Linked DNA regions of Homo sapiens: all the other regions are linked to region 2. Evidence: promoter capture Hi-C in 16 types of primary human blood cells and fetal thymus (Javierre and others, 2016). All regions are on one chromosome and are shown on one strand. The core of a region is centred on a gene start or on the middle of the fragment in contact, and the rest is flanking DNA. Distances in the headings are between cores, read along the strand shown. Region 1 has its middle 21 kb from the start of CTSB. Region 2 holds the start of FAM167A-AS1 (FAM167A antisense RNA 1). Region 3 holds the start of DEFB134 (defensin beta 134).

Region 1 (4,638 bases), core at 624-3,123, 520 kb after region 2:
AGCTTCCTGCTTTTTAAATGTTGGCTCAAATGAAAGACAAAACAGGAATCCAGGCTAGGGGAGAGGGTGACTTGGAGCAGGGGGCTTGCAGGGAGGTGTGAGAAGTGAGAATATTCTGAAGGCAGAGATTTCCTCATGGGTTGGGTGTGGGCTATGAGAGAAAAAGACAGAAAAAGAGGAAGCAGGATGATTCCAAGTTGTTTTTTTTTTTTTGAGACGGAGTCTCGCTCTGTCGCCCAGGCTGGAGTGCAGTGGCGTGATCTTGGCTCACCGGAAGCTCCACCTCCCGGGTTCACGTCATTCTCCTGCCTCAGCCTCCCGAGTAGCTGGGACTACAGGCGCCCGCAACCACACCCGGCTAATTTTTTGTACTTTTCGTAGAAATGGGGTTTCACCGTGTTAGCCAGGATGGTCTCGATCTCCTGATCTCGTGATCCACCAGCCTCAGCCTCCCAAAGTGCTGGGATTACAGGCATGACCCAATGCGCCCAGCTTCTTTTTTTTTTTTTTTTGGCTGAGCCTCTGGGCTCCTCCTAATGACCCCCTGCGTCCTGCTTTCTCCCTCACGCCTGGCATGTCAGTCTCAACGCAGCGCCCGAGGGCTTCTTTAAAACCCAAGTCAAATCATACACTCCTCTGCTCAAAGGCCACCAATCGCGCCCACACCATCAAAGTAAAAGCCCAGGCCCAGGAAGTAGAATGGGGGCTGTCAAGAGCTGGGGAAGGGGGAGCTAGTGTTTAATAGGTGTAGCGTTTCAGCTGGGGGATGAGAAAGTTCTGGAGATGGATGGTGGAGATGGTTGTGCAACAATGGGAATGCTATAAACGTGGGTGGGGAAGACTTCAGAGGAGGAAGTTTTATGGGGGAGAGCAGGAGCTCAGTTTGGGGCATGTCAAGAATGAGATGCCTTATTAAACATTCGAGCCAAGACACTGAACAGAGCTGAGTCTGGAGTTCACAGAGAGCCAAGCTGGGGACATGGATTTGCAATCAATCAGTGCACAGATGGCATCAGTTCCACGGGACTGAGAGTTCACCAGCGTAGCGAGAACAGCCAAAACCAAACCAAACCAAAACGTTCTCCACAGGTCCCAGGAGTGAGCCAGAGACTTTAAGCTGAAAGGTCAGCCATCCAAGGAGGGATCAGGAAGGGGAAGAGGAGGAACAGCAACGAGGGAGGGAGGACCGCCGGAAGGGTGAGCGCTATGCTCGTGGGCTCGGGCGGAGTGGCACCTCGGGAGCTTCCTACTATCAGGGTTTGTGCCTGCACGAATCTGTCTACAGCCACTGCTAAATCTGAGGGCCATTGGGAGGCAGTTCAGGGTTTGGAGTTGTGTGAGGAGACAAGGTTAGGGATGGGAATTGAGGAGCAGTGCAGGAGGGCCGGGCGTGTAGGGAGGTGCCCCATTGAAGGGAGTGGGAGTGTGTGGGTTGGGGAGCAGCTGTTCAGAGGGGTCCACTGTGGCCCCCAGACTCTGGGCTGATCCCCAGAGTAAAGAAGATGGACATATCCTCTAGGGACCTGCACTGTCCCCTCACACCCCCATAAGAATGGTCTGGGGCTGCTGATAGAAGGCTCCTCAGTCAACTGACTTGGGGACTGACAGGGTCTGATGGTGAGAGGCAAGGACAGGAAGGCCTGCAAAAACGAGGCCTGGTCTGTGGTATGGTCTAAATAGTGACTTCCCTCAAAGTCACACAGTGACGTCCTAAGCCCAACTACCTTAGAATGTGACTATATTTGGAGATAAGGTTTTGATTTTTGTTTTGTTTTAGAGACAGGATCTTGCTGTGTTGCCCAGGCTGGAGTGCAGTGGCATGATCATAGCTCACTGTAGCCTCTTCTACCTGGCTGAAGCGATCCTCCTGCCTCAGCCTCCTGAGTAGCTGGGACTACAGGCATGCGCCACCACACCCAGCTGTTTTTTTAAACAGTTTGTAGAGACAGAGCCTCACTATGTTGCCCTGCTGGTCTCAAACTCCTGGGCTCCAGCAATCTTTTCGCTCCCACCTCCCAAAGTGCTGGGATTACATTGTGAGCCACCACACCCAGTCTTTGGAGACACGGTCTTTAAAGAGGTAGTTAAGTTAAACGAGGCTGTTAGGGTGGGCTCTAATTCAATCTGATTGGTGTCCTTATAGGAGGAGGGAGAGACATGAAGGCTGCACATACACAGAAAAAAAAAAAAACCCAACAACATGTGGGGACACGGAGAAGGCATAGCCTGAGGAGAAACCAGCCATGCCAACACCTTGATCTCAGACTTCTAACCTCCAAAACTGTGAGAAAACGAACGCCTATTGTTAAGTTGCCCAGCCTGTGGTATTTTGTTACGGAAGCCTGAGCAAACTAACACAGCCTGGCATTTTTGCTCTGAAGTTTACAGGATTGATTGGAATTTATGGGAATAGATTTATAGTTGCACAACTCAATGCTATGCAGGGATTTTCTCCAGCGTGATTCCTTTGGTGAAACAGTGGCCCCCACTTCCTACTGTCTGCCCAAACCCAAGCCAGCGAAAGTGTCCATTCACCCATCCATTCAGTCATTTACTCATTCATTCAACAAATATTTATTGAAGACTTACTGTAAAGGTCTTATAAAAGGTGATGGAACCTTGTCCATATCAGGGTTAGACATGGCTAAGTTCTGGGGAATTAGAACATATTATTAATCTCCATAACAAATACAGCTTTTGATGACACACAGAAACGAATGAAATCGGACACAAAGTCCCAATCAGTTTTTGGAAATAATCCACAAAATAAATGGAAGTTTCAGTTCCATAAACAACTAAATTGGATCCAGATATCAGATAATTCCACATTATATTGAAAAAGAAGAAATCGGGCCAGGCATCAGCATGTTGGGAGGCTGAGGTGGGCAGATCACTTGAGGTCAGGAGTTCAAGACCAGCCTGGCCAACATGGTGAAACCTTGTCTCTACTAAAAATACAAAAATCAGCCAGGTGTGCTGGCACATGCCTGTAATCCCAGCTACTCAGGAGGCTGAGGCATGAGAATTGCTTGAACCTGGATGGCAGAGGTTGCAGTGGGCCGATTGTGCCACTGCACATGGTTTGGCTGTGTCTCCACCCAAATCTCATCTTGAATTGTAACTGCAAGAATTCCCATGTGTCGTGGGAGGAACCTGGTGGGCAGTGATTGAATAATGGGGGCAGGTCTGTCCTGCACTGTTCTTGAGATGGTGAATGAGTCTCATGAAGTCTGGTGGCTTTAGAAATGGGAGTTTCCCTGCACAAATTCTCTCTTCGCTTGTTTGCCCCCATGTGAGATGTGACTTTCACATTCCACCATGATTGTGAGGCCTCTCCAGCCATGTGGAACTTTAAGTCCAATAAACCTCTTTCTTTTGTAAATTGCCCAGTCTCTGATATGTCTTTATCAGCAGCATAAAAATGGACTAATACCATCTTGTATACTGTTTGGTTAATAAATGCCCTTCTGGGAGACAGGCCTCACAACATCCACAAAAGCTGGGCTGCTTTCTGGGGCAGAAAGAGCTTAATGAAGATTAATATCTTTGTGTTGAGTGAACTCTGAGATGGCTCCCTGTGGTCCCTGACTCCTGGTGTTCTCACCCTTGTGTAATGTCCCCAATTGTGTGCAGGCAGGACCTTCGATTTGGTTTTAACAAACAGAGAAGAGCAAAGATGATAGGATGTCACCTCTGTAAATATAAGATGACGACTTGTGTCTTGGTGGCAGACTCTCTCCTTTATAAGCTTTCATAAAGCAAGTTGCTTGATTGGGGAGGCCCACAAGGCAAGAAACACAGGGTGCCTTCTGGGAAAAAACACCTAGGAATCAAGGCCCTTTGTTCAACTGCCTAAAAGCAATTGAGTCATGTCAACGACCAAAAAGTGAGCTTGGAAGCAGATTCTCCCCAGTTGGGCCTTTCGATAAGACTCAACCTTGCCTGACACCTTGAGTGTGGTCTTGTGAGAGACCATAAAATGGAGGAACCAGCTGAGCTGTGTCCAGATTCCTGACCTACAGAAACTGTGAGAAAACGTGTGTGTGTGTGTGTGTGTGTGTGTGTGTGTGTGTGTGTGTGAGCCAGAATCTTGCTTTGTCACCCAGGCTGGAATGCAGTGGCATGATCATAGCTCACTGCATCCTTGAACTCCTGGGCTCAAGTGATCCTCCTGCCTTAGCCTTCTGAGTAGCTAGGATGGCAGGCACACATCACCATGACCAGCTAATTTAACAACTTTTATTTTTTGGTAGAGATGGTATCTCACTATGTTGCTGAGGCTGGTCTCAAACTGCTGGGCTCAAGTGATCCTCATACCTCAGCCTCCCAAAGTATTGGGATTACAAGTGTAAGCCACTTCACCCTGCCGATGTGTGTTGTTTTAGGTGCCAAATTTATGCTCCTTTGTCACTCAGCAGTAAATAGCTAAGACAATCCTAAACAAGGTTTTTGAGATGGTAGAATAAAGACTCTCTGGGGTCCAATTAGTATTGGCCTGAGGCAGATTCCCTGAACAGAAAAGGAAGTGACCAGTAAATCTGAGTCATCTGGGATGAGGCCCCTTGTTACTAAACCCTCAGATTCCTTCCTGATGAAATGAGAAGTTTGGATAGCTCTCCAAGATCCCCTCCCCTCCCC
Region 2 (4,747 bases), core at 1,738-4,237:
TAGTCTTCGGCCCTAGGAGGGTGACTGTGCATAATGGCGGTTCTGCTTTACTCGAAGGAATTTCCTGTTTTGTACCTTGTACGGTAGACCTTTATATACAATGGTCAAGACCTTTTTGCAAATCCACAACCTGAATAACTTAAGCTAGTCTTGCGTATCTTTTCCTAGCGGATGGTTGGCCGATGAACTTTGATGACAGCAATGCTCGGAAGGACTGGGGGTGGAAACACGACTTTGATCTTCCAGAGTTGGTGACTGCCATGTTGAACTTCCATGGTTCTGAAAGCAGAGTTGCCCAAGCCAACTGAAAGAATCTGGAAGAGGAGCTCCTGTGTCCTGGTCCACTGTCAAGGGAGAACTGTCACAACTCCAAGGTTATAGACTCCAAGGAGCCTACATTATTTGGAACTGACTCATTGGACTAAATTTTGGCAGCTCATATTGAACTGCTAGACAAAGAATGGAGTTAACATTTAAGCATTTTCAGAATGTTGTAGGTATGGTGGTGGGACTTTTCAGTTTTTGCTGTTTGCCTGAACTTGTCTAAACACATTCCACAGAATAAGGCTTAAGTCATCATTAGTTTCCATTTCCTTAATTAGGATGAAGTGACTATTTCTGGGAAGCTGGGAGTATGTGACATTTGTGTTTAATTAAATTCAATTTAAATATTCCTCTTAAGACTCGATTATTCTCTTGACTAAAGACCAAAGATTACATTTTAAGGACTTTCAAAGAGGTACTCCTCATTTATAAGTATTCTTTACTATCCCAGCGAAAGTAAAACATGTTTGGTGTATTCATCCCATGTCTATCACATTCAAGATATTTTGACACTGCTTCAAAAATTATAATTTCTGGTTTTTCTGTAAGATGCTAGATCTGTGGGAAATTAAGAATTCAAAGATGATGTAACCAGCGAAGGGTAGCCCTGCTCTTATTTTGATTGCCCTCCTATTAGTGAGCTAAATGTAATTCCCAGGAACATAATTCCCTGACCTGGCAACATCAGCATCTAGGGAGATTGTCTAATACACAGGTTTCTGGGCTACATCCCTTTAGATTCACTCATTAAGTGCCAGGTGCCACTGGTTATTTGAATCCAGCTGAGGCCCACTAGTCAGACCAGTTTAGACCAATGCAGTTTTCTAAAGAGCACTTTCTTGTTGCATCTTTTTTTTTTAAGATATTCCTGGGTTGAGCTTTCAGAAGGGCTACTCTAAACCCTCTGATGCAATTACCGTATAGATACATACAGGTTAACTTTTTAAGTTGAAGTTAGGCCAAATCAATTTCTGATTGTATTTTATGGTAAGGGAATGAGTGTGTTCAGAAAATGCTTTCAATCCGGTCATTTAAAAAAATATTTCTGGTGCAATACTGTATAGACACGTACAGGTTAACTTTTTTCCAGCGACCTCGGAATGTACTGCATGTAAAATCACTAGGAAGTGAAACTTCCAGTTCCACAGATTAATCATGGATATATTTGATAACAGCTATCAAGGATTAAAAGGCGTTTATTTATGTTGCATGCTTAATAACAAAATGTTATGCATTTGGAGTTTTGAACTGTTAGGTCAAAGCGTGGATTTTTTTGAAGGCATAACTGGATTTAAAATCTATTTGACTATTAACTGGAGAACTTTTAGGTAATTGAATTGTTTAACAGTTACATTACTGTAGCTTTTTCCTCCACTTAATAAGGTTTATGTTTGTAGATTTTATTTTTTTGTTATTTTTCTTTTGGGCTGCTCTTGAGAGGCAGGAAGATTTTATTTTTTAAAATCAGAAAGTTAGTAATGAATTCTTTTTTTGAAAGTTTGAGATATAGTTTACATACCATAAAATTCACTCATTTATAGTTCTGTGGTTTTCAATGTATTAAAAAGTTTTGCAACCATCACTATAATCTAATTTTAGGCCATTTCATCACCCCACAAAGAAATCATATTATATAAGCCCTTCCCACCCTCGGCAACCACTAATGTACTTCTTCTGTCCCTGGGTTTGTCTGTTCTGAGCATTTTATGTAAGTGGAATGTGGTTGTCTTTTAGTGGCTTCTTTAATTAAGCAGTCCATTTTCAAGGTTCATCCATGTTTTAGCATGTATCACTACTTCATTTTTTATTGCTAAGTAATATTCCATTGTATGAGTAATCCTCTTATTTTCTCTATCCATTCATCCATTGAGGGACATTTAGGTTTTTTGCACTTTTTAAGCTATTATGAATAATGCTGCTGTGAACATTTGGGTAGATAATTGAGTTTTAAAATGATTGCTTACTGTTTATAGTTTAAAAAACAGTTCTTAAGTTTGATTAATTTATTCTCAGTTATCTTAAAGGAACAAGCAATTCTTCCCTTTCATAAGATAAGAAGCAGCAACTCGAGTGACCTTTGTCTCCTAGACCCTAACCTTCCAGCATTTCTACCAGGCTCCTAGAATGACCTTTAATTCGGATCATTTGGAGGGGTTTGTTCCAAACAGGTTCCTTGAATCTTTCCCAATCTGTAAACACACCTCCAGGAGATCTCAAATAAGAGTGAAAAAATAATGAATGCTTCAGCTTCTTTGGATGATTCTTATTCACTGACATCTTTGTACTCCAAGACTAGAATTAGAGTTGTCCCTTCTGTCTGAACACTCAGTATCTGGTGCACATCTTGGGATCCCGGAGCCCATCAATGTTTTCCTGTAAAATGCTTTCCGTTCTGTTGGGAGAAAGGGTTTTTTATGATTAATTTGGAAATAACCCAAAAAGCTATTTGAAGGAAAAGTGGGTTTAACCACAAAAATAGTTTATTTATAAATAAAAAAGAAAGAATACAAAGATTGGCTTTGTTCTGATGTTTTACACAGGCTACCGGTGGTTATTAGTTTTCTGCTCACATGTTTGTGTGTGGCGTTGCTGGGATGTGCCTTGTGTTGCTACACAAACAGCGATCCCGAAGTCTGCCAGCAAGATAGATGGCCTGGAGTCCAGAACAGACTGGATTAGTGAAAGCTACTGCAGTGCTTTGGACACTTACTATGGTAGGTGGGAGATATTTAGTATTTTTTAATTCACATAGGCCAAATCACCAATTTGTGATTGTATTTTATGGTAAGGGTGTTCAGAAAATGCTTTAAATTCTGTCATTTTAAAAAAATGTTTATTAAGAGTTCAGACAATTTAAAAGATATATAATAAAGTTGTCTTCCCCTCCAAACCCAATCAATAACATGTTAGCAGTGTAGTGTGGGACCCAGTGCAGTGGCTCACACCTGTAATCAGTACTTTAGGAGGCTGAGGCAGGAGGATTGCTTAAAGCCAGGAGTTCAAGACCAGCCTGGACAACATAGCAAGACTCTCATCTCTACAAAAATAATTTAAGCCAGATGTGGTGATGCACACCTGTAGCTGCTACTCACGTGGCTGAAGCTGAGGGATCACTTGTAGCCAGGAGTTTGAGGCTGCAATGAGCTATGCTTGCGCCACCATACTCCAGCCTGAGCCACAGAGCGAGACCATCTCAAACAACAACACACAAAAAAACTAGTGTATACCTTTTATTTTCTCCTGTGCTTATACAATCTAGGAGTGGAAGGTGAAACCTTTTTCTTTTCTTTTACTATAAAAGTAGTGCTAAGACAATATTGTCAAAAGTTTTGGAAAAGACTCACTTTCAATTTTTGCCATGTCACATGGTAGCTGTTTTAAAATATTCTCCAGTCCTCTATGCGTTACAAAGAACTTACATGTAGTTTTAACATTTGCCATTTAAAGATAGCTGCATAACTCGTTGAATGGAGTATCATAATGATGTCATTCTATTTAATTGCTGAAACCTAGAAGTACAATTACTGGGTCACAGGGCGTAAACACCTACTTGCCTCTTCATTTTATGTGGTCAAATTTATCTTCGGAACGAGTTGGATTAATTTGTGATGAAATTCTCGACCATCAACACCTTCCTCTTGGCACATATTCATGGACCTCAGTATGGTTTACATTTGTTGAAAAGTTTTATTTTTGTGGCTGGGTGCAATGACTCATACTTGTAATCCCAGCACTTTTGGGAGGCTGAGGCAACAGGATCAGTTGAAAGTTTTATTTTTCTAAAAGGTTTGAAGAATATAAACTTCATTTTTTGCTGGAGAATCTTAACATTCTAATACAAGAGCCGTGAGTGAATAAATCCTAGATCTCACATAACCGGATGATAACTGCCTCTAAATCAGTGAATTGCTTCCAAAAATCACCGGTGAGAAAGGAATCTTGTTTTTTAATGATTTTTTTTTAGGGTAGTCACTTTAAAAAAAATTATTTCATGGCACTGTTTTTATAGCTTTAGTATGTTTGTCTATAAGGTAGCTAAACAGGCCACCCCTTACCTTCCAATGTGAAGATCCCAGAAAACTTTTTTTTAGCCAACTTACATATATAAAGTTTAGGATTGTAGATGAGAGGATAAAATAGACACCTGTACTATTAGTTGCAGGTGTTTCAGATTTGTTAATCTATTAACCAGCATGTGGGCTTTCCCTCTTCACATTCGCATTTCAGGCATGTCACTCCGACTTCGTATTTGATCTTGGTGCCCCCTTTGGCATCCCCTAATAGGTTAAGAGCAGATGATCTTTTTTCTTTCTAAGTTGTTTGGGATGCAGCAGTTTCGGGGTCTATGTATGATGCTGTTGGTGGACATTTATCCCAAGCCACAAGTATGCCTGTGTGTAGGTAGCACTAGGGCAGCTGCTTT
Region 3 (4,519 bases), core at 1,675-4,174, 630 kb after region 2:
TAAAGATATTGAGGACCTAAACTCAACACTTGACCAAATGGACTTAACAGACATCTATGGAGCATTCCACCACACACCAACAGAATACACATTCTTGTCATCTGTACATGGCACATACTCTAAGATCAACCACATGCTTGGCCATAAAGCAATCCTTAACAAATTAAAAAGAACGCATGCCAGTAACATTCTCAGACCGCAATGCAATAAAAATAGAAATCAATACCAAGAAGATCTCTCAAAACTATACAAGTACATGGAAATTAAACAATATGCTCCTTAAAGACTTTTGGGTAAAGGATAAAATTAAGGCAGAAATCAAGAAATTCTTTGAAACTGGGCCAGGTGCAGTGGCTCACACCTGTAACGCTAGCACTTTGGAAGGTTAAGGAAGGTGGATCACTTGAGTCCAGGAGTTTAAGGCCACCTTGTGCAACATGGTGGGACCCTGTCTCTACAAGATTAAAAAAAAAATTAGCCAGGTGTGATGGTGCACGACTGTAGTCCCAATTACTTGGGAGGTCGAGGTGGGAGAATTGCTTGCGCCTAAGGGGTTGGGACTACAGTAAGCTGTGGTTGTCCTGCTCCACCCAAGCCTGGGTGATAGAGTGAGACGCTGTCTTAAAAAAAAAATAAAAAAAATAAAAAAGAGACGTTCATTGAAACTGATGAAAACAAAGGTACAATACCAGAATCCCTGAGACACAGCTAAAGCAGTGTTAAGAGGAACATTTATAGCATGAAAATGCCTACACCAAAAAGTTAGAGAGATCTCAAATTAAGAACCTAACATCACACTTAGAAGAACTAAAAAAACAAGAGCAAATCAACCCACAGCTAGCAGAGGAAAGAAATAACCAAAATCAGAGCTGAACTGAATGAAATAGAGACATGAACCCATACAAAAGATTAATGAAACCAAAAGTTGGCTCTTTAAAAGAATGAATAAGTCTGCTTATTTAGACTGCTAGCTAGACTAAAAAAAGAAGATCCAAAAAAACACAATCAGAAACGAGAAAGAGGATATTACCACTGACCCCAAAGAAATGCAAAAAACCCTCAGAGACTATTAGGAGCATCTGCATGCACACATGCTACAAAGCCTAGAAGAAACTGATAAATGCCTGGAAAAGTACAACCTCCCAAGGTTGAACTGGAAAGAAATTGAATGCCTGAGCAAACCAATAATGAGATCTGAAATAGAATCAGTAGTAAAAAACCTACCAAACAGAAAAAGCCCAAGGCAGGAACCTATCATTTCTACCTTAGGTTCCTACCTTGGTCTCAAGTGAGCCCCAGCTGGAAGTTCATACTAAAATTGACACAAGGGGTGCCTGGTCATATCATGTCCAATTTCTTAGCAACCAGCCAGTGAGGGCGTGGGTTCATGAAAAGCAGGTATGGGAGTATAAAGGTCATAAACAGTATAAAGAATTACTGGCTGAGGCTCCCAAAGAAGCCAGCAATCACTCTGAGAAAAAAAGACCTGGAAACCTCAACCTCAGAGAGGACATGCTCAGTGGGATACTGGCATTGCCCATGCAAAGAAAGTGTTGAATATGACTCAAGGAGAAATAATAAAGCAATATACTTTTATCTATGTTGATAAACAGCTGGAAGAGGCTTTAACCCAAGCAAAAATAATGTTGCTTACAAAGCCAAAGTTAAAAAACCCCAAGACCATTACAGTGCCAAATTCTTTTCCCCAGAACGGACTATTACTATCATTCTCCCACTATTGATAAGGAGCTCGTTCACTGACTAGGTCACCAACTACCAGCAATTCGTGATTTTACTTAAATATCAGAACAGGACAGCCTCTGAGTTTTGCTCTAAAAGGTAAAGAAGAATTTCAGCAACTGTCAGAGATCGTCTCTTGTTATCTAGACCTCCCCTGGCTCAGCGTCTGGTTCACTGTAGGTGCCACGAGTTGGGAGCTGACCTAGTTCATAGACTTTAGAGATAAAGAGGGGAGATGTGCGCATCATTTGAAAACAAGTATGTGGCTTACCAGCACACCAGCTTTTTCTTTTCATCCATATATTCCCCTAAGGCCACATGGTGCTCTGGGATTAGAAAATGGAGAAGTACAATATGCTCCACGCTAGGACTAGATGGCTCTTTCTTCTGCCTCCTGGGTTTGGTATTTCTTTAGGGTCATCATGCTACTCTTCTCATCTTCCTGATCTGTGGTTGTTCTGCAACTGCCATACTCTCAGCTGCAATTGAAATGTCCCTGTCTGACCCTGAGCCATACAGATTCAATATGCAGCCTTTCCAAATGACAATCCTAATAAACAGAAATGTATTCTAGCCAACAGTGGGAGATGCAGAAGGAAGCAGCTTCTGTATCCTCTGTGAAGAGATGGTCCTCTTTCCCATTACAAATTTTACAGCACCCATTCCTTTTTTTTTCATAGCACTTGTCACAATTGTTACTATATCAATTATTTGTGTCTCTGATTAGACTGTGAAATCCGAGTAGATTCCATGACTGTCTTATTTATCATTTTACACCAGTATTGGGCTGAAAGTCTAGCAGGCCATCAGTGCCAAAGGTATATTTGTTGAATAAATAAATGAACTCTAGATATTAGGTTTATACTTTAACTTTACAATATATAGTAGTTATTCCTTATTCATGGGGCTATGTTCCAAGACCCCCAGTAGATGCTTGAAACAGTCGATAATACTGAACTCTATATATACAGTGCTTTTTTTCTATACATGCAGACCTATGATAAAGTTAAATTTATAAATTTGGCACAGTAAGATTTTAATAACAATAACTAATAATAAAACAATTATAACAATATGCTATCATAACAATACTATAAAAGTTATGTGAATGTGAACTCTGTCTCCCCCAAAATATCTTACTGTGCTATGCTCACTCTTCTTCTTGTGCTGATGTAAGATGATATAATGCCTATGTGATGAGAGGAAGTGAGGAAAACGACATAGGCATTGTGACATAGCATTAGGCTATTGCTAATCTTCTGACCATAGCTCAGAAGGGGGATCATCTCCTTCGGGTGATGCTGGGTCACTGAGCCATGGTGATGTTAGTGGCTGGATCTCAGAAGCATATGATTTCAATAACTAATGGGCAGGTAGTGTTTACAGTGTGGATACACTGGACAAAGGGATGATTCACATTCTGGGTGTGTGGAGCTGCGTAGTGCAAGATTTTGTGTTACTCAGAACAGCATGCAATTTAAAACTTATGAATTGTTTATTTATGGAATTTTGTGTTTATTTATTTATTTATTTTGAGATGGAGGCTTGCTCTGTCACCCAGGCTGGAGTGCAGTGGCGTGATCTTGGCTCACTGCAACCTCTGCCTCCCAGGTTCAAGTGATTCTCCTGCCTCAGCCTCCTGAGTAGCTGAGATTACAGGCACCTGCCACCACACCTGGCTGATTTTAGTATTTTTAGTAGAGACGGGGTTTCACCATGTTGGCCAGGCTGGTCTCGAACCCCTGCCCTCAGGTGATCCACCCACCTTGGTCTCCCAAAGCGCTGGGATTACAGGCATGAGCCACTGCACCCAGCGTATTTAATATTTTGGACTGTGGTTGACTGTAAGTAACTAGAACTGTGGCTGGGTGGGGAACTACTGCAGATATATTCCTAACAGCTGGTATTTGGAGCACTTTTAGGCATCAAGGATTGTAGTATGTATTTTTTTTAATATTGCCTCACTTAATCTTACAAATGATCTCTTAACTAGACATTTTCACAATTCACATTTTCAAGATGTTGAAGCAGAGATTTGAGTAATTCTTCTAAAATCACACATCTGGGACTGATAAGTCTTACAGAGATTCTAGAACCCAAATTAATTAACCACTCTTCTATATTGTCTCCTGGGACAAAGGGGTTCTGAAATATAGCAAAAATTCTACTTTGAATCTAGTCTGGGCCAGCCAGGAAGAATTAGTAGATGCCAGGGCCTGGGGAGCTAGAACCTATGGTAAGGAAGTGACACTGAAAAAGCTAAAGAATCTTTCTTTCTTTCTCTCTCTCTTTCTTTTTCTTTCTTTCTTTCTCTCTCTCTTTCTTTTTCTTTCTCTTTCTTTCTTTCTTTCTTTCTTTCTTTCTTTCTTTCTTTCTTTCTTTCTTTCTTTCTTTCTCTCTCTCTCTCTCTTTCTTTTCTTTCTTTCTTTTCTTTCACAGACGTCTTGGGACGCAAAGGGCCAAGGCATCAGAAACACTTGGTACCAGCTTCCACAGCAACAATGAGAGGTAACCCCAGTGCTTCCACTACCAACAGGACATTACCACTTGCAGGCAGAGAAACAGACAAGAAAAATAGTGGATGCCACATATTAGGACTCGTCTGAGACATGATGCAAGACTTTTTAGAAAGAATTTGAGGTGAGATGAGGCTGGGCTCTCTGAAGTAGTTCAAGAGAAATACTATTTTGTGGCCCTTATTGGGACTTACTTATAACCTAAGGACCTAGGATGATGCTTGAGTAGCAGGACCAACCAATGTACCAAAGAATGGGCCTCA

The links. Contacts are between HindIII fragments. The CHiCAGO score rates a contact against its expected background, and 5 or more counts as called.
Region 1: a fragment that was not itself captured here is called in contact with the fragment with the promoter of FAM167A-AS1 in region 2 in 2 of 17 cell types (naive B cells and total B cells); the score reaches 7.3 in naive B cells.
Region 3: a contact is called between the fragment with the promoter of DEFB134 here and the fragment with the promoter of FAM167A-AS1 in region 2, in 4 of 17 cell types (total B cells, naive B cells, M2 macrophages and 1 more). The highest score is 8.3, in total B cells.

Annotation. Positions count from the first base shown.
Region 1 is chr8:11,887,205-11,891,842 of GRCh38, forward strand. No RefSeq gene overlaps it. Among named protein-coding and RNA genes, the nearest start is that of CTSB, 21 kb to the left of the region's middle. RefSeq lists a silencer at 3,921-4,104. The HindIII fragment of the contact is 3,746 bases long and covers 1-3,746 here.
Region 2 is chr8:11,365,415-11,370,161 of GRCh38, forward strand. It overlaps FAM167A-AS1 (FAM167A antisense RNA 1), which reads left to right and starts at 2,988. Exons shown (of 7, transcript NR_026814.1): 1 at 2,988-3,038. It also overlaps the pseudogene TDH. The HindIII fragment of the contact is 6,691 bases long and covers 1-4,747 here.
Region 3 is chr8:11,997,828-12,002,346 of GRCh38, forward strand. DEFB134 (defensin beta 134) reads right to left here and starts at 2,925. Exons shown (of 3, transcript NM_001302695.2): 1 at 2,881-2,925. It overlaps LOC105379245 (a long non-coding RNA gene), which reads left to right and starts at 4,306. Exons shown (of 3, transcript XR_001745644.2): 1 at 4,306-4,380. It also overlaps the pseudogene OR7E160P and the pseudogene LOC100421446. The HindIII fragment of the contact is 7,293 bases long and covers 1-4,519 here.